7 separate regions of the Homo sapiens genome follow, and all the other regions are linked to region 5. The links are contacts of gene promoters, found by promoter capture Hi-C in blood cells and fetal thymus (Javierre and others, 2016). All regions are on one chromosome and are shown on one strand. The core of a region is centred on a gene start or on the middle of the fragment in contact, and the rest is flanking DNA. Distances in the headings are between cores, read along the strand shown.

Region 1 (2,737 bases), core at 88-2,587, 460 kb after region 5:
TAATAATGGCTATCTCTTGCTTTTTTGATAATAGCCATCCTAACAGGTATGAGGCGATATTGCATTATGATTTTGGTTTCCTGATGATTAATGATGTTGAGGCCCTAGAAAAAGTACTTTTAATGATATTGGCTTCCCTCCTGCTTTGGGTGGTTCCATTTAGCCTAGGTCAAAATCACATTGTAGACCAGATGTTTGGTGTCCCTACCCTGCAGTCCCTGAACTTGGACTGTCCTGGGACAGACCCCACTTGGTAATGCATCCTAAACTTTACTTTGGCTCAGTTCATATCTTTTCTCCTACAGTGAAGAGTTCATAGGGAAGACATGTCATAGGAAAATTGGTTTTATAACGTGATGCCAGGAAGAAAAGTTTGTCCTTGGCCAAAAAAGTATTTATTGACCTGAAAAGGGAAGAATAGCAGAGAGCACTTCCCCATCATCTTTCATGTTTGTCGGGCTTGTCATGAGAAGCCCTCACCCCTTTCCCACCTCTCCCTTCCCTGTGCCTCTTTCTACTTTCGATTCTCCCCTGTTATCTCCCTTGTTATCTATCTGATGGAGCCAGTGTGGGCACTCCACAGTCCAAATGGAAGCTCAGTCCCTCCGGGTTGGCAGTGTGGCTGACACCTAACAGTCTGGGAAGTGGGAGAAATTCTAGAACCCAAGGCTATTACCGACCCTCGACTTCCCACTTCCCATAAGTGTTCCACACCCAGTGAGTGATAAGGATGGGATCAGGGGATGCCCCCAAGCTGTTATTAGCAGCCTCTGGCAGACAGAAGGGCAAAGAGCTAGAGAAGAACGCTGGACATGGGATGGGCTGGCAGAGCTGGCCAGACAGAACCCTGGGTGGACACAGAGTTGGGAACAAGCTGGCCAGGAGATGTGGCAGAGAGGCACCAGTTACTTTCCCAGGTGAGTTAATGTGCCAGTGTTTCCAGAACTTCGAGTCGCTTCATCTTTATCCAGCACCCACCCCTCACCTTCCGCATCCTGAAGAAGAGAGATGGGCAACTGGAGGGCTTCCATGCAGATCCGGCTCTACACATAGGTTTGAGAGCATACTCAGCAGTTTCTCATCCTGGTCCAGGCGATATTTATAGAGGGACCAGTGACATGGAGCTGGAAGCCTACTACTGGTGACTAAGAAGGGGGACAATGCCACTGGCTCAGCAGAGGGAATTCCCTGTGGGGCTGTCCCTCAGGTTCTCATCCCAACCCCCACCCCCACACTGCACTCACACCTGCTTCGACCCCAAGCAGATCAGATGTGGCAGTGGGGGGTCATGTGACGGAGAGGGGTCTATAAATAGCTGGAGGTGGGCATGCTGCCCCAGACGCCTTGGGGACAGCAAGAGCAGAGGCTTAAGGAGCTACACTGGGGGAAGGACAGGGGCAAGCAGGCCAAGGCCTGGCCGGGGCTCGGGGGGAGGGAATATGGAGCAATCCCGGTCACAGCAGCGTGGGGGTGAACAAAGCTGGTGGGGTAGTGACCCCCAGTACCAGTATATGCCCTTTGAACACTGCACCAGCTACGGACTGCCCTCTGAGAATGGGGGCCTCCAGCACAGGCTCCGGAAGGATGCAGGCCCCCGCCACAACGTCCACCCCACACAGGTAAAGTGCTCTAAGGGGAGAGGGGAGCCATGGATGAGGGGAGACAGTGGTGCCAGAGACTGGTGAAAATGAGGAATTGGGTGAAAAGAGGGAGCAGTGTTACATTTTTTTAACTTAAAAAACAAGTACGTGGTGATGTGTTCAAAATATGAAAATCTTTGAAAGTCTGGGCTCACTTAAGTATGCACTTAGAGAGATATGCATGCACTTTCATACAACCTTTACCAACAGAGTACCCAAATCATATGGGGAAACAGCAGAGCCTCACATGCATGAATAGCTCGTGCTTACATAACCTACGTGGAGTGGATTGCGTAGGAGCCCACACTGCAGTGTGCTGGGAGCTGTCTCCCACACCCTCACCCACAGGTAGACACTGCCAGATTTCTGCCTCTGGGACCCTCTGCAGAATACACACAAACATGAATCTTTCTGCAGAAGGCAGAAGAAAGGAATTGGGCAAGTGTAGAAAACAGACTGAATTGCTTATCAGTGATCAAAGATCTACCAACGTCAAAATGAGCAGAGATGTACAAGCTTTTAGGTCGCAAGATGATCAAGTAAGAACCTATTAAGTGTTAGGCACCTGGAAAAGGGCAGAGATGTGATCCCAGCAACAGAAGCATGCAGGCTAATTAGGAGTGTCTATGGATGAGCAGCCTCCCGCTGTGGGATTGGTGGGATATGAACACCTAGGAAAGGGGGAATGGGGATGGGCACAACTAAAGGAAAGGTTGTGAAATTGTCATGGAAAAAGATAGGTCATGGTTAATAAGTAAGTGTGCCTCTCCCTCCAAAGAATGCAGAGAATAACAGAGGATAGAATTTGTCTAGAGGGCAGTTGGCCAGAACTTTTTTTTTTTTTTTTTTTTTTGAGATGGAGTCTCGCTCTGTCTCCCAGGCTGGAGTGCAGTGGTGCTATCTTGGCTCACTGCGACCTCCGCCTCCCGGGTTCAAGCAATTCTCTTTCCTCAGCCTCCTGAGTAGCTGGGATTACAAGCACCTGCCACCATACCTGGCAAATTTTTGTACTTTCAGTAGAGACGGGGTTTTGCCATGTTGGCCAGGCTGTCTCGAACTCCTGACCTCAGGTAATTCACCCGCCTTGGCCTCCCAAA
Region 2 (2,735 bases), core at 11-2,510, 400 kb after region 5:
TATCAATTATTTAATTCCAAATGACATGATTAAAGCGCTATTTACTGAGCTTTCAAATGTAGATAATACCATTGGCTCATCTACGAAAGATGAGAATTTGGATCGCATACACCACCTCTCCTCTGCCTCCTCCAATGTTTGATAATTATATCATGTTTTGTTCCTCTACTTAGTGCTTTTCCCACTTCAAATAACTTACTTATACCACTATTTCTTGTTTCAATAGCTCTAATCAGTATCTAGAGTAAAATTAAGTAAGCAGGAGGCTATTGACCTGAGACAGTCTCCATGCTTTGAATTCCTATGAAACAAAATGCAACCTAACTTAGTATGTAAACAAACTGAAACTTAACTTAGGAGTTTCATTTTTATAACAGATAACCAGGTCTTTGCCAATCACAAGCAGCCAAGCTTCAGCTAAGTGCAAGCAGCCAACGGACTGGCTCATGTCTAAATCAAGCAAAACACTTAGCTGCAACAAATCAAACTATTTATGTACTTTACCTTCCTGTTCTGCTTATAAATACTCATTGCTTACAGTTGCAGAGCTCTCGGAACCTCTTCTGGTTCTGAGTACTGCCTGATTCAAGAATCATTCTTTACTCAAATAAACTCCATTAAATTTAAATTGTCTGAGGTTTTTCTTTTAACACTAAATACCCCTCTCAGCAATAGGAAGATGATAGCCCATAGAAGTGAATATATTTTTCTTTTTGTTGTCTCTACTCCATTTTATCCACAACAGGGCCCAACCTAAAAATAATAATAATAACAACAGTAATAGTATGTGGAGATAGACTGTAAGGACTCAGATCAATGTTTTATTATTCTGTGATTCTTAAAGTAAATATACATGAGTCCATACTGATATAAATAACTGACTGAATAAATAAATAAATAGAAAGAAGGGACAACTCTCCTGTCAAAAGAATTCCAATTAATAAATGAAAAAAACTAAGGAAATAGAGAATCACCATTAGAACACCACAGTAACAACTGCTGCAGGCAAGATCCACTGATGAATAATAAAACTGATGGGTGACAGTTTAGGGAGCAACTGGATATTTGCATAGCCTCAAAGTATCTCCCCCAAATATTTATTAGTTACCATGGTAGTGTTAACGTATATCCACAACTTCTTTAATATTCTTCCCTCCAGTGGATGGACTTAATCTACTCAACCCTCACTCCCAGGATGGGCTGCACTTACTGACTCCCTTCCAAAAACTAGGGTTTGGATAGGGAAAAATGGTGACTTTACAGTGCAGAAATTTTCCAGTTGCTCCGCCTTAACCAGGTGACCAAGGTAAACACCACCAGTGATGAGTCATGTTGATATCCCTGTACCTCATGACATGATTCAAGAAGGGCACCTTACCTCTGTGGTAATCTTCCCAAAAGTCCACAACCTTAGTCTTACTCTGAGGAAATATCAGACAAACCCAAATGAAGGGACATGCCACAAAATAGCTGATCAATACTCTTCACAAGTGTCAAAGTCATGAAACACTAGAAAAGGCCAAGAAACTCTCATAGATATGGGAAGAATAAAGAGACATGACAACAAAATTCTGTATGTATGCTGGACTGGATCCTGGAACAGAAAAAGAACACTAATGAAAAAACTGGTGAAATCTGAGCAAAACCTGCAGTTCAGTTAATAGTAACGTACCAGGCTGGGCACAGTGGCTCATGCCAGCACTTTGGGAGGCTGAGGCAGGGGGATCACGAGATCAGGAGTTGGAAACCAGCCTGTCCAATATGGTGAAACCCCGTCTCTACTAAAAAATACAAAAAATTAGCTGAGCGTGGTGGCACACGCCTGTAGTCCCAGCTACTTGGGAGACTGAGGCAGAAGAATCGCTTGAACCTGGGAGCCGGAGGTCGCAGTGAGCCAAGATTGCGCCACTGCACTCCGGCCTGGGTAACAGAGTGAGACTCCAGCTCAAAAAAAAAAAAAAAAGTAATGTACCAATGTTAATGTATTGGTTTTTATCATTATCATACTTATGTAAGATTTTCACATTAGGTAAAGCTGGATGAGGGGTATTCAGAAACCTTGTACTATCTTTACAAGTCTTCTATAAATCTAAAACATTTCCAAATATAAAAAGCTTTTTAAAATAAGTGATTGATCTACCTTTGAAATGAAACCTTAAATTACCACGCTGAATTAGCTCTTGGACACTTTAAAATTATGATTACTGGAGAAAAACAAAAATGTAGCTGGGCATGGTGGCTCATGCCTGTAATCCCAGCAGTTTGGGAGGCCGAGGTGGGAGGATCACTTGAGCCCAGGAATTCAAGACCAGACTGGGAAGCATGGTGAAACCCCACCTCGACAAAAAACAAAAATTAGCTGGGTGTGGTGACATACACCTGTAGTCCCTGCTACTCAGGAGGCCAAGGTGGGAGAATTGCTTGAGCTTGGGGGGCAGAGGTTGCAGTGAGCCAAAATTGAACCACTGCACTTCAGTCTGAGCGAGAGTGAGATCATGTCTCAAAAAAAACAAGGTGGGCTGTGGTGGCTCACATTTGTAATCCCAGCACTTTGGAAGGCCAAAATGGGTGGATCACCTGAGGTCAGGAGTTCAAGACCAGGCTGGCCAACATAGTGAAAGCCCATCTCTACCAAAAACACACAAAAAATTAGCTGGGCGTGGTGGTGGGCACCTGTAATCCCAGCTACTTGGGAGGCTGAGGCAGAGAGAATTGCTTGAACCCAGGAGGCAGAG
Region 3 (2,700 bases), core at 201-2,700, 490 kb after region 5:
CTCTCTTTCTCTCTCCCTCCCTCTTTCCCTCTCTCTTTCTCTCTCTCTCTTTTCTTTTCTTTTCTCTTCTTTCTTTTCGACAGAGCCTCACTCTGTTGCCCAGGCAGGAGTGCAATGGCGCCATCTTGGCTCACTGCAACCTCTGTCTCCTGGGTTCTAAGTGATTCTCCTGCCTTAGGCTCCTGAGTAGCTGGGATTACAGGAATGCACCACCATGCCCAGCTAATTTTGTATTTTTAGTAGAGACGGGGTTTCACCATGTTGGCCAGGCTGGTCTCGAACTCCTGACCTCAGGCGATCCACCAGCCTTGGCCTCCCAAAGTGCTGGGATTACAGGCATGAGCCACTGTGCCCGGCTGGAACTGTTTCACATGGAGGAGTGAATGGTTGTTAGTAAACGATAATTTCACATTTCTCTGCCTTCACCATCATTTGACACTTCATCCTGCTTTGTATGATTTCTTATTGTGGTTTATATATCTATATCTTGTCTTCCTAACTAGGTGGGCATTCCTTGAGAATAGAGGCTATGAATTCTATATACCCAGAGTGCCTTGTTATAGGTATCTACTAGATATTAAATGAATAATTTCCTAGTGTTTGAATTAGTGTAATAAAGAAAAATCATGTAGGGCCATTTGGAGTCATTAAGATTGTTAGTTCTGATTTCCAATAATCAGAATATCCAAATTTCTCAAATTAAATTAATTCAAATATTTTCCCAAATCTCATATACATTCCACGTTCTACAGCAGAGGCTCTTTATTAGAGGAGGGGTACAGCCAACAAATGAGGGGCAAGGTTTTCATAATAATGACTGAGACCTAACAGTAAAATTCATCTCCAGAGCACTGCTGCAATGTCTTGGCCTTAAAACTTAATAAAAATGTTAACTATAGTAGCAAAATTTCTATAATCATATAAAAGACCTTCTCAGGAAAAGTAGGCATTTTGATTTATCCTAGCAGGGTTTTTTTTTTTTTTTTTTAATGAAATCTCGCTCTTGTCGCCCAGGTTGGAGTGCAGTGGTGCGATCTCAGCTCACTGCAACCTCTGCCTCCCGGGTTCAAGCGATTCTCCTGCCTCAGCCTCCCAAGTAGCTGGGATTACAGGCGCCTGCCACCACGCCCAGCTAATTTTTTTATTTTTGGTAGAGACGGGGTTTCACCATGTTGGCCAAGGCTGGTCTCGAACTCCTGACCTCAGGCGACCCGCCTGCCTCGGCCTTCCAAAGTAGTGGGATTACAGGCGTGAGCCACCGCCTGGCCCAGGTTTTTTAAATGATGAAATGTCAGATACAAAAGAAAGAGTTCCCTTGTTTCCCTTTTTCCAGGGAGAGATATAATGTTTGTATTGCTTATAGACTTCTTTCAAAGCGTGTTCACGTCTCAGCTTATTTGAATGGCTTCTCATGTTTCTTTTTATTTGGACAGCATTGATTAGCCTCCTTAATTATCAGCTCACCTATCTGAAGTCTATATAAGGCCTCATCAAAATAAGTACAAATTAGCCCAATTAGTGCTCTACCAATTGGCCCCGTACCTGCTAAATGGATGAAATAAAAGGGATTGAGTGAGGTTAATCTTGGAGGATTCTTAAAATGAGTTTCCAGGAAGCTGAGAAAGATGTGGGGACGCCGGGCAGGGTGGCGCCTCTCCTGTTCCTTCTCAGGAGTGCGGAGCGCGGTGGTGCGAGAGGGCTTGGAGGGGGCGCTCAGGCAGGGCGTGGGTTTCCCTCAGATTCAATGATCCTGCTGGGCTCGGTGGAGCGGTCGGAACTGCAGGCCCTCCTGCAGCGCCACCTGTGTCCTGAGCGCAGGCTGCGCGCAGCCCAAGAGATGGCGCGGAAGTTGTCGGAGCTGCCTTACGACGGGAAGGCGCGGCTGGCTGGGGAGGGGCTCCCCGGCGCGCCTCCAGGCCGGCCCGAGTCCTTCGCCTTTGTGGATGAGGATGAGGACGAAGACCTCTCTGGCAAGAGCGAGGTGACCGCGCCGGGAAGGGCTAGGGAGTGGGATAGATCAGGAGCAAAGGGAAAAGCGTCGTCTGGGCTGGGCTGGGCTGGGCTGGGACAGGCGTAGTTTCCCTGAAAGTAGTGGGAAGAGGGAGGGGAGAGTCTGGTAACTGAGAAAGCCAGAAATTCTGGATCAGGTACCATAGAGACCAGTGCCTCTGGGTCCAGGGACTAAAGAAGATAAGGTTGCAGATGATGGTATCCTCGACAATTCAAAGGGATATAGGAATTTCTGAACTGGGGGGAAGAATAGAGTTCGCTTTCCCAGAACATCCACCAACTGGTAAAGGCAGTGAAGGCCCAGGCAGTCTCTGCTCCCAGGCTGAGACTTCTTACTCTTCCTTACAGCTTCCTCCTTCCCTTGCTCTCCACCCCTCTACTACTGCCCCTCTGTCCCCAGAAGAGCCCAATGGGCCTCTGCCTGGCCACAAACAGCAGCCGGAAGCACCAGAGCCTGCAGGTGACGCTCTTCCCTCATGCACCCCAACTCACCCCTTGTGGGTTCTCTCTGGTCACTAGGACCTGACCTTGACCTGCATGCAATTCCTATGCGGGGTGGGGTGGGGGGTGAGGCTGGGGGATTGAGGGAGGACAGGGTTCTTATTCATCAATTCTCCTTGTTACTGTCCCAGGGAGTGGGAGCAGAGGGTGATTTAGGAGGGTAGAAGAGAGGGTGAGGTACCTGGGAAG
Region 4 (2,700 bases), core at 177-2,676, 490 kb before region 5:
GGCCACATCTTCAACACTTTGCTGCTTATAAATTTCTTCCACCAGATACACTAGGTCATCACTCGCAAGTTCAAACTTCCACAGATTCCTAGGGCAGAGGCAAAATGCACCCAAGTTCTTTGCTAAGGCATAACATGTGTGACCTTTGCCCCAGTTCCCAATAAGTTTCTCATTTCCATCTAAGACCTCAACAGCCTGGACTTCACTTTCCATATCACTATCAGCATTTTGGTCACAACCATTTAACCAGTCTCTCAGAAATTCCAAACTTTCCATCATATTCCTGTCTTCTTCTGAGCCCTCTAAACTCTTCCAACTTTTGCCCATTACCCAGTTCCAAAGCTGCTTACACATTTTCAGTTATTTTTATAACAATACCCAACTTCTTGTATCAATTTTCTGAATTAGGCCATTCTTGCATTGCTGTAAAGAAATACCTGAGACTAGGTCATTTACAAGAAAAATGGTTTAATAGGCTCATGGTTTTTCAGGCCGTACAGAAGGCATAACACCAGCATCTGCTTCTGGTGTAGTCTCAAAAGCTTACAATCATGGAAGAAAGAAAAGGGGAGGCAGGCACATTACATGGTGAAAACAGGAACAAGAGAGAGAAAGAGAGTGTGTGGGGGAGGGAGGGAAGGTCATTTAAAACATACTTTTAAATGACCAGATCTCACAATAATTCATTCTCTATTCTGAGGACAGCATCAAGCCATAAGGGATCTGCCCCCGTGATACAAACACCCCTCACCAGCATGGGGATTACAATTCAACATGAGATTTGGGTGGGGACAAATATCCAAACTATATCCAAAGGAGTCTCACCTGGAGCTGTGGGCTGTGCTGCCTGAGGTTGGGGATGGGGTGGCATAAGCAATTTCTTGGCCACCCCAGCTGGTATCTCACTAGGTCATGTGTCCCCAAGTCCACTGACTCTGAGTTCAGCACAGCACCAAGACTTGCCCAGGAATTGTAGTCCTTGTGGCCTGGACTGTGTTTCAAGTTTATTTAGGACCCTAAGGCACTTTAGCCCATGGTAGCGAGGCTAGCCAGAACTCAGGTTCTGACTGCTGGGATAAGTGATTCCCCTCTGACTAGGGCTGGTCTAAATGTTCTTCCATGAGTGCTGGCTGAGTCCTGCCTGCTGTTGCTATCCACTGTGTGAGGACAGCAACGACTTCCAACACAAAGTCCCACAGTCACTGCACTCTCCCTAACCCAAATGCACAGACTGTCTCTCCAAGCCATATGGCCACTGCCAGGGGATGGGGGAGGCATGGTATTGGCAATTCAAGAGTGTCTTTTCTACCTCTTTAGTGCCTCTTTCAGTGATATGAAGTTAAAACCAGGTACTGTGGTCACTTAGTTGATTTTTGGTTCTTATGAAGGTGCTATTTTGTGTGGATAGTTGTTCAGTTTGATGTTCTTGTTTGGAGGAACAGTTAACGAAGGCTTCTATTTGGCCATCATGTTCTACCTTCTTCTTAATCATTCTATTGGGTCTGTAGTGATATCTCTATGCATTTTTCTATAAGTAATTATATTTACATTTTTTTCTGTTTTCATTAGTAATTTCTATCTCCTTTTTTCAAGTGTCTGCTTTTAAATTTGCCTGTTTTAAAATCTTACGTTGTTTGTTCTTATATTACTAATACGTATAATATGTTTGTATTTTTTATATAAACCTTTTGACCATTAAATATATTGAGTTAGTCTTCTCCCAGAGTGGCCTGCCTTTGTACTTTCTGAATAGAGTCTTCTCATGAACTGAAATTTTCTATTTTTTGAAGTTTAATTCATATATATTTTTCCTTTTACAGTGACTACTCTTTGCATTTCAAGGATATCTTGCCTATAACAGAATTATGAGTTGTTCCATTCTGTTACTTACTCTACTCCTCCTCATTAGTAGCCCCATCCCTTTTTCTTTGTCATCACTTGAAAATGCTAAATCTCCAAAATCACAAATTAAATATTCCACTATCTGCCTACAGCTTCTTATCCTATCATACCTGTTCTTTGATATTATTGACATCTCCTCTCCACTGGTAAATATTCTTTCTATTTCCTAGGGTCCCTACAGAATTTCTTTACTCATTCTAGAGCAGATATGAGGATGTTACGTGTTAAAAATCCTAGCTTGCAAATAGTTATTATTTTATATTGATACTCTTAGGCTTCCCTTTCATTTACAAAAATAAACAAGAATAAATGCACTGATCTCTTTGGCATGGCAGAAGCTGAATGCTGTCAGAGTAAGTCACACCGGCACAAACTGTTATCATGATAAATACATAGTCACTAAGCTTACCTGCCTTTATATCCCTGCTTTGAGATTATAGTATGGTCCTTTTACTAGCTCAGTCTTTCACCCTCCTCAAATATTGTTTCAAATATTTAAGACTTTTTTCCAGTCCCTAATTCTTCTCTTCTTGCCTCTTAAGCCAAAGGCACATCTTGTTAGGACATGCTGGACCTTGCATCTCTGCAATTAACACAGTTTTTCTACTGTGTGAAGGTGTCACCTTGAGTGAAGATGGTTCTTGTGGACGGGAACCCAGTGTGGGGCTCAACTCTAAAGGGATGTGGCAATGGGTCTGAAAATGGGTTCTCAATGAAGCATCACAGTGTCCACTATGTTTATGAAGTAGATCCACCCTGCCACAGACTTCTAGGTAAGAGGAGGTGAGCATGCATCAT
Region 5 (2,735 bases), core at 122-2,621:
CTTATTTATTGACTCCTGATATTAAGAGTGAACAAACCCCTGGCCAAGTGGGAACTTGCTCGGTAGCCTTTATCTTTCTATCACTCATTCAGTCAATTCATTAAAGCCTGTTTGTCTCTCCCAGGTGACTCTTACTGAGTTTCATTGTTTTGTTTATTGTGTTTGTTGGCTCATAGATCTCTTTCACAATTTTCTTCGGCTTCTGAATGCTCTTTAAGTACCAGTTTTGATCAGCCCATTTGCTTTAATAAACAGGAGAGCAAGATGGGACAGGGCGATACAGGGAGAAAAGGGGGCAAAGGGAATCGCACCGGGTGCTTGTGCTCCCTAGAAAAACCAGCAGGTGGTAGCAACACTTCGTGGCAAGGCCCCAGCCCAGCTCTGTAGGACCCAAACAATAGACCCCAAATCCCCGTCCTCGGCTAGAGAAGGGGTTAGAGGTGGGCGGAAACACTTTTCCTCGCGGCGCCCCCTCGGTTCCTCAACCCTGCCTCCAGGCGCCAGCTGAGAGCACCTTGCACCGCCCCTCCTCACTGCAGGGAGGTTCTCTCCGGAGCGCGGGCGAGGGAGGAGGCACCCAGAGGTGCAGCGACTTGCCCAAGCCATGTCAGAGCCAGGCGTACAGCAGCGCTTCCCCTTTTCAACCCGACTGCCCTGCCCCTTGGGGAGGGTAGATGGAGGGAGGTTCGACTCAGAAGCCCCAACGTTGACCAAGATCCAGACACGAAAAGAGAAAAGAGTTCCCGGCTAGCACGGCGACGCTTTCATACCGAGACGCCCCCCTCTCCCGCTGCCTCGGCTCCCCCTACCACCGCCCGTACTCTCCCAGATTTCTCAGTTTGTCTTTCCCTCCACCCCCTGCTTTTCCTTCCTTCTCTCTTGCTCAGCTCACGCCCACCTTAGTTCCAAGCTGAGTAGGAGCCCCACTGTTTTAGTTCCTAGAGTTAAAGCCGAAGAGGAGGGAGGCGCGAGGGGGTGTGTGCAGGGCTCTGCCCTGCCCTGAACTGCCACGGTCCGCCAGTTGCGCTTCGCTCCGCGGGTGTCCGACCCAAGCCGAGCCCGAGCCCGAGCCCAGGCAGGGGCTTTACAGACAGCCTCTTCCCTTCCCACTTCCTGCAGGCGCCCCACGCGTGCGATCCTCCCGGCCAAGACCCGCGGGAGGAGGCCGCCCCCTTCCCGGCGCACAGGCGGGGCCCCGGGCGCGCCCCGCGTCTCCCCCGCGCGCCGGGGCGGAGGAGCGGGCGCCGCGCACTCACCGCCTAGGCCGGGAGGGCGGGCTCGGCTCCCCGGAAGAAGGGAGTGGGAAGGCGGCCAAAGGGGCTGAAGGGGCGGGCCGGGCCGGCTTGGGAGGGGACGCGGAGGGGGCGGGCCGGGCTGCGTTCGCTCCAGCCGCGGCTCTACAGCAGCGGGCGGCGGGACCCGGGACCCAGCTTGGCGACGGCGATCTCGACGCGGGCCCCCAGGATCTCCCGGCGCCCCACCTCTGGAGCAGCCCCTGCCGCCAGCGTCAGGTCCACCCCGGAATCCCAGGGACTCTCGGCGCCGAACGGACCCGGGCCGGGTGCAACGGGGTCCCCGGACTGGAGAAGACGCGGGTGGCACCGTGCGAGCTCCAGGAGCCCCGGGTCCACTGCGAGGCCTCGGGGGGCGCAGACCTGCAGAGACTGCGGCCAACGGGAAGGTGAGCCCGCGGGGTTAGCAGGCGGCGTTGTGGGGGTCGGGGACAGTATGCTTGGGGACAGAGGAATTAAGGTTTGCAAGAGTAGTGGGGCTCCTCAGCCCCTAGGTGGCTTCCTGAGGGAGTACTGAGGATCCTTCCTCAAGGCCAGAGTGGGGTTCATGAAGGGTGAGGAAACGGTCAACCTGGCTACTCCCCTCTCACTCCACTCTGACCTGGCATCATTGACACCGCATTACCCTTGCTGTTAGGATCCCCCAGTTGCGTTCCCAGACATTCTCCTCTGGCTCTGGCTTGGGAGTCCTAATCTGGGAGGGTCCTCGCAGAGACGGAGCTCCACGCTTGGAACAGGATTGCCACCCCTCTGACTCCAGTGGCATCACTCCAATCCCCTTGGAGCTGGGAGGAGTCAGGAGGCTGACCACACACCTGTCCCCTGCTCCCCACAAGGCACTGTCCCCCCCAGCTCCATGACCACAGTTAAGCCTTGGAGGTGGAAGGAACGCTTGGTTCCTGCTGCCCAGCCATCACCCCCAACGTGCAACCAAATTCTATTGCGTGCTCCTGCCCCAGCTCCACCCTCGCTCTGCTCCCTCCATCTGGGTGCTTGGCCCTGCTTGCCCCACACCCCCACCCACCGATCTTGGCCGTCTGGCACCCTCTCTCCTCCCATCCCTGGGGGAGCTGGCATGGACCCAGCATAGCAATGTTGTAATGTCCCTGGCAGCGCCCATGGAGCGGAGCTGCTGGGTCTGTTCCCAGTTAACCCAGGCCCTCCGCCCGCCAGGGGAACTTGACTGAGGCTCTAGGAGGGGAGATGCTGGTCCTGAGCTGAGAGACCAGTGGGAGGGAGCTGTGTGGGGCTGTTAGTAGACCACAGAAGCTGCCCAAGTAAGGGGCATTGGAGCATTGAGGCTTCTGAGTGCTGCTCAGTGGGGCCACTTGGCTTTTCAGAGCAGTGGGCCTTTTTTCTCAAAGGAAGATTAGCGTGGGGGTGTCTATGTACTTACCTGGTGGCCTCAGAAGGAGGACTTGTTTGGAGTCTATTACTCCATTC
Region 6 (2,840 bases), core at 287-2,786, 440 kb after region 5:
GGTGGTGGGTGCCTGTAATCCCAGCTACTCGGGAAGCTGGGGCAGGAGAATTGCTAGAACCCAGGAGACGGAGGTTGCAGTGAGCCAACACGGTGCCACCGCACTCCAGCCTTGCCAACAGAGTGAGACTCAGTCTCAAAAAATAAAATAAAATAAAATAAAAAGGAGGGGGGTGTCCCAGATTGACTTCCCCTTTCTTGTCTGGTATCTGGCTTTGTCCTAACATGAGCCCTTTTTTTTGTTTTTTTTTTTTTTTGTTGTGTTTTTTTTCAGAAATAGGGTCTTGTTCTGTCACCCAGGCTGGAATGCAGTGACACCACCATAGCTCACTGCAGCGTTGAACTCCTGGGTTGAAGGGCTCCTCCTGCCTCAGCCTCCCAAGTACCTGGGATTACAGGTGCATGCCACCACACCTAGCTCATTTTTAAATTTTTTGTAGAGAAGGAGTCTCACTTTGTTACCCAGGCTGGTGTCAAACTTCTGGCCTCAAATGATCCTTCCGCCTTGGCCTCCCAAAGTGCTGGGATTATAGGCGTAAGCCACCATGCCCAGCTGAGACATAGTTTATATTGGGAACAGTTGTCAGTAAATTTGTTAAGGGCTAGTAGGACAGTTTATGCAGGAGTTTGTGGTTTTTTGTTTTTTTTTTTTCTTGTGATGGAGTCTTGCTCTGTCGTCCAGGCTGTAGTGCAATGGTGCAGTCTCGGCTCACTGCAAACTCTGCCTCCTGGGTTCAAGTGATTCTCCTGCCTCAGCCTCCTGAGTAGCTAGGATTACAGGTGCGTGCCACCATACCCAGCTAATTTTTTGTGTTTTTAGTAAGAGATGGGGTTTCACCATCTCCTGACCTCGTGATCTGCCTGCCTCGGCCTCCCAAAGTGTTGGGATTACAGGCATGAGTCACTGCGCCCGGCCCAGGCAAGGTGTTATTAATAGTTGGTCCATTTCCCTTCCACCCCAGATAACAGTTTTTGTGATAATTGGGCCTTTGAGTAGCATGTATGGGCAGGAAGTTCATGCTCAATTGGCCTCTAAAAAGCTGAATAAGAAAAGACTACATTTGGGGCCACCAGCCTGCTGATGGAGCATCCTAGTGATTGGAACGAGGCTTTTATCAGCTAGCCCATTCGGTCATTCAGCCAGTTGAGCATATGCTTCATGCAGGCTATGTGCAGAGAATCCTTTAGTGAGCTAAAACTAAGAGTCTCTGCCCTCATGAAGCTTACAGGTTTGGGTAGTGAGTGAGACCAATATTTATCACAACCCAGTTGCAAGAGATGTCTGAAGTTACAATGACATATTAAGATTGATGGTTAAGTTATATACTAGTTTTTTGGTTTTCTGTCTATACCACAGATACTGTGGAACACTCCCTAGACAATAAAGATGGTCCTGTCTGCCTTCAGGTGAAGCCTTGCACTCCTGAATTTTATCAAACACACTTCCAGCTGGTGAGTTTTTGCATAATGACAAGAGGAAGAGAGTTGGGAAATTAGACACCCTTCCTGGGAACCTGAACTTAGTTTGCATGTACATTTCCTTTCTGCCTTATTAGTCAGAAAGTTGTTACTGGTTAAATGCCTTCTGTGAGCATTTGTCTATTTTTACCTGCTGGAGGTTAAGAAGAAAAATACGATGTCTTTGTTTTCTTGAAATGTCTAATCTAGCCGAGGAATCATCTGTTATCAAGACGCTCATGGTCTAACTGGCCTCTCCTCCACAGGCATATAGGTTGCAGTCTCGGCCTCGTGGCCTAGCACTGGTGTTGAGCAATGTGCACTTCACTGGAGAGAAAGAACTGGAATTTCGCTCTGGAGGGGATGTGGACCACAGTACTCTAGTCACCCTCTTCAAGCTTTTGGGCTATGACGTCCATGTTCTATGTGACCAGACTGCACAGGTACCTGAGGTGGGAAAAATTGACATGTAAATTAGAGGACTGAACAACACTTTGGGACCAGAGACATCGTTTGTTCCTGTGCCTGCTGGGATATGTCTTAAAAGTTGGTTTATTCTACTTACATTTTTACTCACTCTGTTCTGCCTCTCACCTTGCATTCTAGTAAGAAAGAATTAGGGCCGGCCAGCCATTTTAGTGTTGACATCTCAGGTTGTGGTTTCATAAAGTAATAATAGTCCACAGTTGGTGTCTCACTTTTTTTTTTTTTTTTAAAGACAGAGTTTAGCTCTGTCACCCAGGCTGGAGTGCAATGGCACGATCTCGGCTCACTGCAACCTCTGCCTACCAGGTTCAAGCGATTCTCCTGCCTCAGCTTCCTGAGTAGCTGGAACTGCAGGCGCATGCAACCATACCTGGCTTATTGTTGTATTTTTAGTAGAGACGGGGTTTTGCCATGTTGGCCAGGCTGGTCTCAAACTCCTGACCTCAGGTGATCCGTCCCCCTCGGCCTCCCAAAGTGCTGGGATTATAGGCATGAGCTACGGCACCTGGCTGGGAAAGTATTCTTAACATTTGTGTAATCACAAGTCATAGGGTAGATTGTTTGTGGACCAGATTTCTAGAAATTGTAAACATTTTCATTATGGGCTGTTCGTCATTAACCTCAGTTACTGTACTGCACAACTGACTTTGTGACCTTTAGGGTTTCTATTTTGCAATCAATAATGGCCTATTTGTAGATTCATATTCACTCTTTATTTTGATTCCAGAATAGTAGAACTTTCTTCAACTTGCTTTGAGGTTGTCAGTGGTGAAATTAAAATTGCTAGGAGATTCACTTTGATCTGTTGGGATAGAGGATCTTTGTTTTCCATTCAGCATTGTCTGTAGTCTTCATTTCTCTTTCTTAGCTGCCCTCCTTCTGTGAGAGTAATTATGT
Region 7 (2,850 bases), core at 160-2,659, 470 kb before region 5:
CCCAATCCTGGCATCCACCAGCACCAGCCAGACCTATCTGTACCACTGTGGCAGCACATCCGCAGCCCTGCACAGCCAGCTGCCCTCTGCACAAAAAGGGCAGTCACAGGCTGGAGGTGGGCACTCCTTATGGAAGCCCGTGTCTCAACCAGAAGAAAAAGCTGCCCTTTCTGAAGCTCTTCCCAGACTTCCCAGCAATGGGATCTCATTCTATGTGTGCTCCTGCAGCATAAAACTTAGAGTGAGCTGGGTCTGTCACTGTAGTGCGGATGTGTAAATGCAAACAACGTAATGTTATTTTGCTCAATTTGGAATATTCTGGTAATTGTGCAAAGGAATGGTAGCTTCTAACAAGAAATTCATATTTCACTTTCTTTTCAGGAGAGAAGAAAAAAGCAGAAAGCAGCTGGGAAGCTTTAGCCTGCTTGAGTGATCTGGGATTCTCAGGTAGCATACATAACATCACCTTGGCTTTGGTTCCTTTAGATACCAAGCATGTGTTCTGTGGAGGACAAGAAAATCCATTTTTTTTGTTATAAAGTTATAAACACACAAGAGAACAATCCAGTTAGGGAGAATGTTAATAAATACAACAAACTCTGCCATTAGACCTGAAGATAATCAGCTAGTAGAATTATCAAAGAGATTGTAAGACTCTTACTGAGTACCTGTTTGAGGTCCTCTGAGGATAGATGAAGGAAGGAACTTAATTCTTACCATCACTGTGGCTTGGATTAGAATCCATGAGTTCCTTAACTTGTTTTTCTTGTAAAATATTATAAAATAATATAGAACACACATTTTATTTTCCTGTAGCCTGTAGTCCTCTTTAGCACCTAAAGGGAGAAGCGCATATCCCGGTGCAAAAGGGAGCTGGTTGCTTGCTTGGCAAAAAAATGAATTCACCAATTGGCCAATCTGCTGAAAGTCAAAATGAAAGGCTAATATATGAGACTGATGACAGTTCATGGTTCTTGGTATAACTTCAACAGCGAGTGAGCATTTTTTTCTTTGTCTATAGCTTTCTTTCAGCCATCGATCCTCAGTTGTGTCTTAGCCTCTTATCAGTCCAGCTCACTTTGATACTAAATTTGATTGTTGTGTATCTCAGCAAGAAGCACGTCTCACATTCTCTGTATTTTTTGTGGTCATGAGTGTGTTCCTGTCTTATTCTTATTTTATGTGGTGCATTTCTAAATAGGACTGTACAGAATACAAGCATCTATTTGTATATGACTCTCATCTTTTATGGGGAGAGGTCAGAGTAGGTGAGCGTGCACTTTGATTCTCTGCTGGAATCTCTTTGGATTCTATGTCCCCTGTCACATGGTTTATTTTCATATGCATATTTCTCATGGTTCTCCTGACTCTTTTAGCAATGCTCATTGCAGGATATTAGAAATTGTATTACTTCTAATGGCAGAATGTTAGAAATTGTGTTGACTCTTAAGGCAAAATAAAATACCTGGACTCACCTTTCCATTGCTGTGTCTATTAGTCGTGGTCCTGGAGATATCAAGGAGGGACAAAAGGAGTATTTGCAAAGGTGTGGCAGGGTTAAGGGAACCCAGTAAGAGAAGTAGAAGTAGCCTAAGAACAGCAGAATCTGTGGCTCTTATTCACATTGGCCTGAAATAAGTAGGAGAGGATGTGGATCCCAAAGCATCAGGTACTGTAGCTCTAAGGCAAGGCTGCCTATAAGGTGCTGTGGACTTTGGTAGGGAAAAGTAACCTATATAAAATAATGAAGCAAGAGGATAGCCAGGGCATAGATGAATCAGAACAAGTGGTGCCCCTACCTCCCTCTACTCTCCTGCCATTGTCTCCCATTAGCCAAACTCACTCTGGAGTTAGAGAAGAAGAGAGCCAGTTAACATAATACACTGAGGTCAGCCTCTGAAGGCAGGGTGGATCTGGAGAAATTAACGTAAATTATCCAGATCACTACGCATAAGATGGCCTTGAGGGTGCTGAATCCCAAACTGTCTGGCTAGGTCTGTGCTGTGAGCTGATAAAGCCCTAGTATTATTTCTGGGGAATCTGTACTCTTAATAATTTACAGACAACCAAGGTCTGCTTTGGATCTGATCAGATAGACTAAATCTTGGGGACTTTGCACCACTGGCCACTCAAGGGAGGGGCTGGAAATATTTTCTGAGGACAAAAAAATAGAATTAGAAAATTTGGTTGAATCTAGCGTCAGAGAGATGACATTAGGACAGCCAGGGAGAGCTGGAACAAGAAGGTTTAATCACAGGCTCCTCACCCTCTGCTGATGGGCAGGTGTGTGAGCTCCAGCATGGAGCACGACAGCACTAGGTGGGAGGAGGGTGAGAGGGTGATGGGGCAGCCTGGGAGCTGGAGCAGTGTAGGCAGAGGAGCAACTGTCTCATCACAGAAGCTTCTGCCCTCACCCAACCCTTCTGCTGGACAGGGAGGGAGTTCAGGTTGTGGGGAGTACTGGACCTCAGGAAGCATTTATAGGGAGGACACAGGACAGTGACATCACAGGATACCCCACCCATCAGGAAAATCAAGGCCCAGAACTCACTTGGCCCTTCCCCAGGAGGACCAAGCCCTGAATCAGATGCAGTGCTGCCTGCCCCACTGTGCCATGGGCCCTGGGCTCCTCTGCTGGGAACTGCTTTATCTCCTGGGAGCAGATGAGTCCTGTGCACAGAACAGCAGCCCCATTCTCAGATTTCCCACCCCTGTGTCCTCCACTTTACACTGGGGAGGACCTCCAGGCTGTCTGCTGTGCTCATCCTCCATCTGCTTTTCCCACAGGCCCAGTGGAGGCTGGAGTCACCCAAAGTCCCACACACCTGATCAAAACGAGAGGACAGCAAG

The links. The method cuts DNA at HindIII sites, captures the fragments that hold promoters and counts their contacts. A CHiCAGO score of 5 or more calls a contact.
Region 1: a contact is called between the fragment with the promoter of CLCN1 here and the fragment with the promoter of EPHB6 in region 5, in 6 of 17 cell types (neutrophils, M0 macrophages, M1 macrophages and 3 more). The highest score is 9.6, in neutrophils.
Region 2: a contact is called between a fragment that was not itself captured here and the fragment with the promoter of EPHB6 in region 5, in 1 of 17 cell types (erythroblasts). The highest score is 6.9, in erythroblasts.
Region 3: a contact is called between a fragment that was not itself captured here and the fragment with the promoter of EPHB6 in region 5, in 2 of 17 cell types (neutrophils and non-activated CD4 T cells). The highest score is 6.4, in neutrophils.
Region 4: a fragment that was not itself captured here is called in contact with the fragment with the promoter of EPHB6 in region 5 in 1 of 17 cell types (fetal thymus); the score reaches 5.2 in fetal thymus.
Region 6: a fragment that was not itself captured here is called in contact with the fragment with the promoter of EPHB6 in region 5 in 3 of 17 cell types (erythroblasts, naive B cells and total B cells); the score reaches 7.5 in erythroblasts.
Region 7: a contact is called between a fragment that was not itself captured here and the fragment with the promoter of EPHB6 in region 5, in 1 of 17 cell types (naive CD4 T cells). The highest score is 5.1, in naive CD4 T cells.

The regions. Positions count from the first base shown.
Region 1 is chr7:143,314,774-143,317,510 of GRCh38, forward strand. It overlaps CLCN1 (chloride voltage-gated channel 1), which reads left to right and starts at 1,338. Exons shown (of 23, transcript NM_000083.3): 1 at 1,338-1,619. The coding sequence starts at 1,440. The HindIII fragment of the contact is 3,265 bases long and covers 1-2,154 here.
Region 2 is chr7:143,258,649-143,261,383 of GRCh38, forward strand. All of the region lies in intron 2 of TMEM139-AS1 (TMEM139 antisense RNA 1), which reads right to left. All of the region lies in intron 2 of LOC105375546 (a long non-coding RNA gene), which reads left to right. Among named protein-coding and RNA genes, the nearest start is that of GSTK1, 3.4 kb to the right of the region's middle. The HindIII fragment of the contact is 1,703 bases long and covers 410-2,112 here.
Region 3 is chr7:143,343,782-143,346,481 of GRCh38, forward strand. CLCN1 (chloride voltage-gated channel 1) reads left to right here. Exons shown (of 23, transcript NM_000083.3): 17 at 1,740-1,981; 18 at 2,359-2,470. Among named protein-coding and RNA genes, the nearest start is that of FAM131B-AS1, 17 kb to the right of the region's middle. RefSeq lists silencers at 1,635-1,929, 1,736-1,815. The HindIII fragment of the contact is 4,049 bases long and covers 1-2,700 here.
Region 4 is chr7:142,368,413-142,371,112 of GRCh38, forward strand. It overlaps TRB. Among named protein-coding and RNA genes, the nearest start is that of MIR11400, 100 kb to the right of the region's middle. The HindIII fragment of the contact is 1,764 bases long and covers 545-2,308 here.
Region 5 is chr7:142,853,705-142,856,439 of GRCh38, forward strand. It overlaps EPHB6 (EPH receptor B6), which reads left to right and starts at 1,372. Exons shown (of 20, transcript NM_004445.6): 1 at 1,372-1,681. The HindIII fragment of the contact is 5,828 bases long and covers 1-2,735 here.
Region 6 is chr7:143,292,874-143,295,713 of GRCh38, forward strand. It overlaps CASP2 (caspase 2), which reads left to right. Exons shown (of 11, transcript NM_032982.4): 5 at 1,357-1,451; 6 at 1,724-1,900. Among named protein-coding and RNA genes, the nearest start is that of CASP2, 5.9 kb to the left of the region's middle. The HindIII fragment of the contact is 634 bases long and covers 1,220-1,853 here.
Region 7 is chr7:142,386,588-142,389,437 of GRCh38, forward strand. It overlaps TRB, the pseudogene TRBV8-2 and the pseudogene TRBV5-3. Among named protein-coding and RNA genes, the nearest start is that of MIR11400, 87 kb to the right of the region's middle. The HindIII fragment of the contact is 1,987 bases long and covers 417-2,403 here.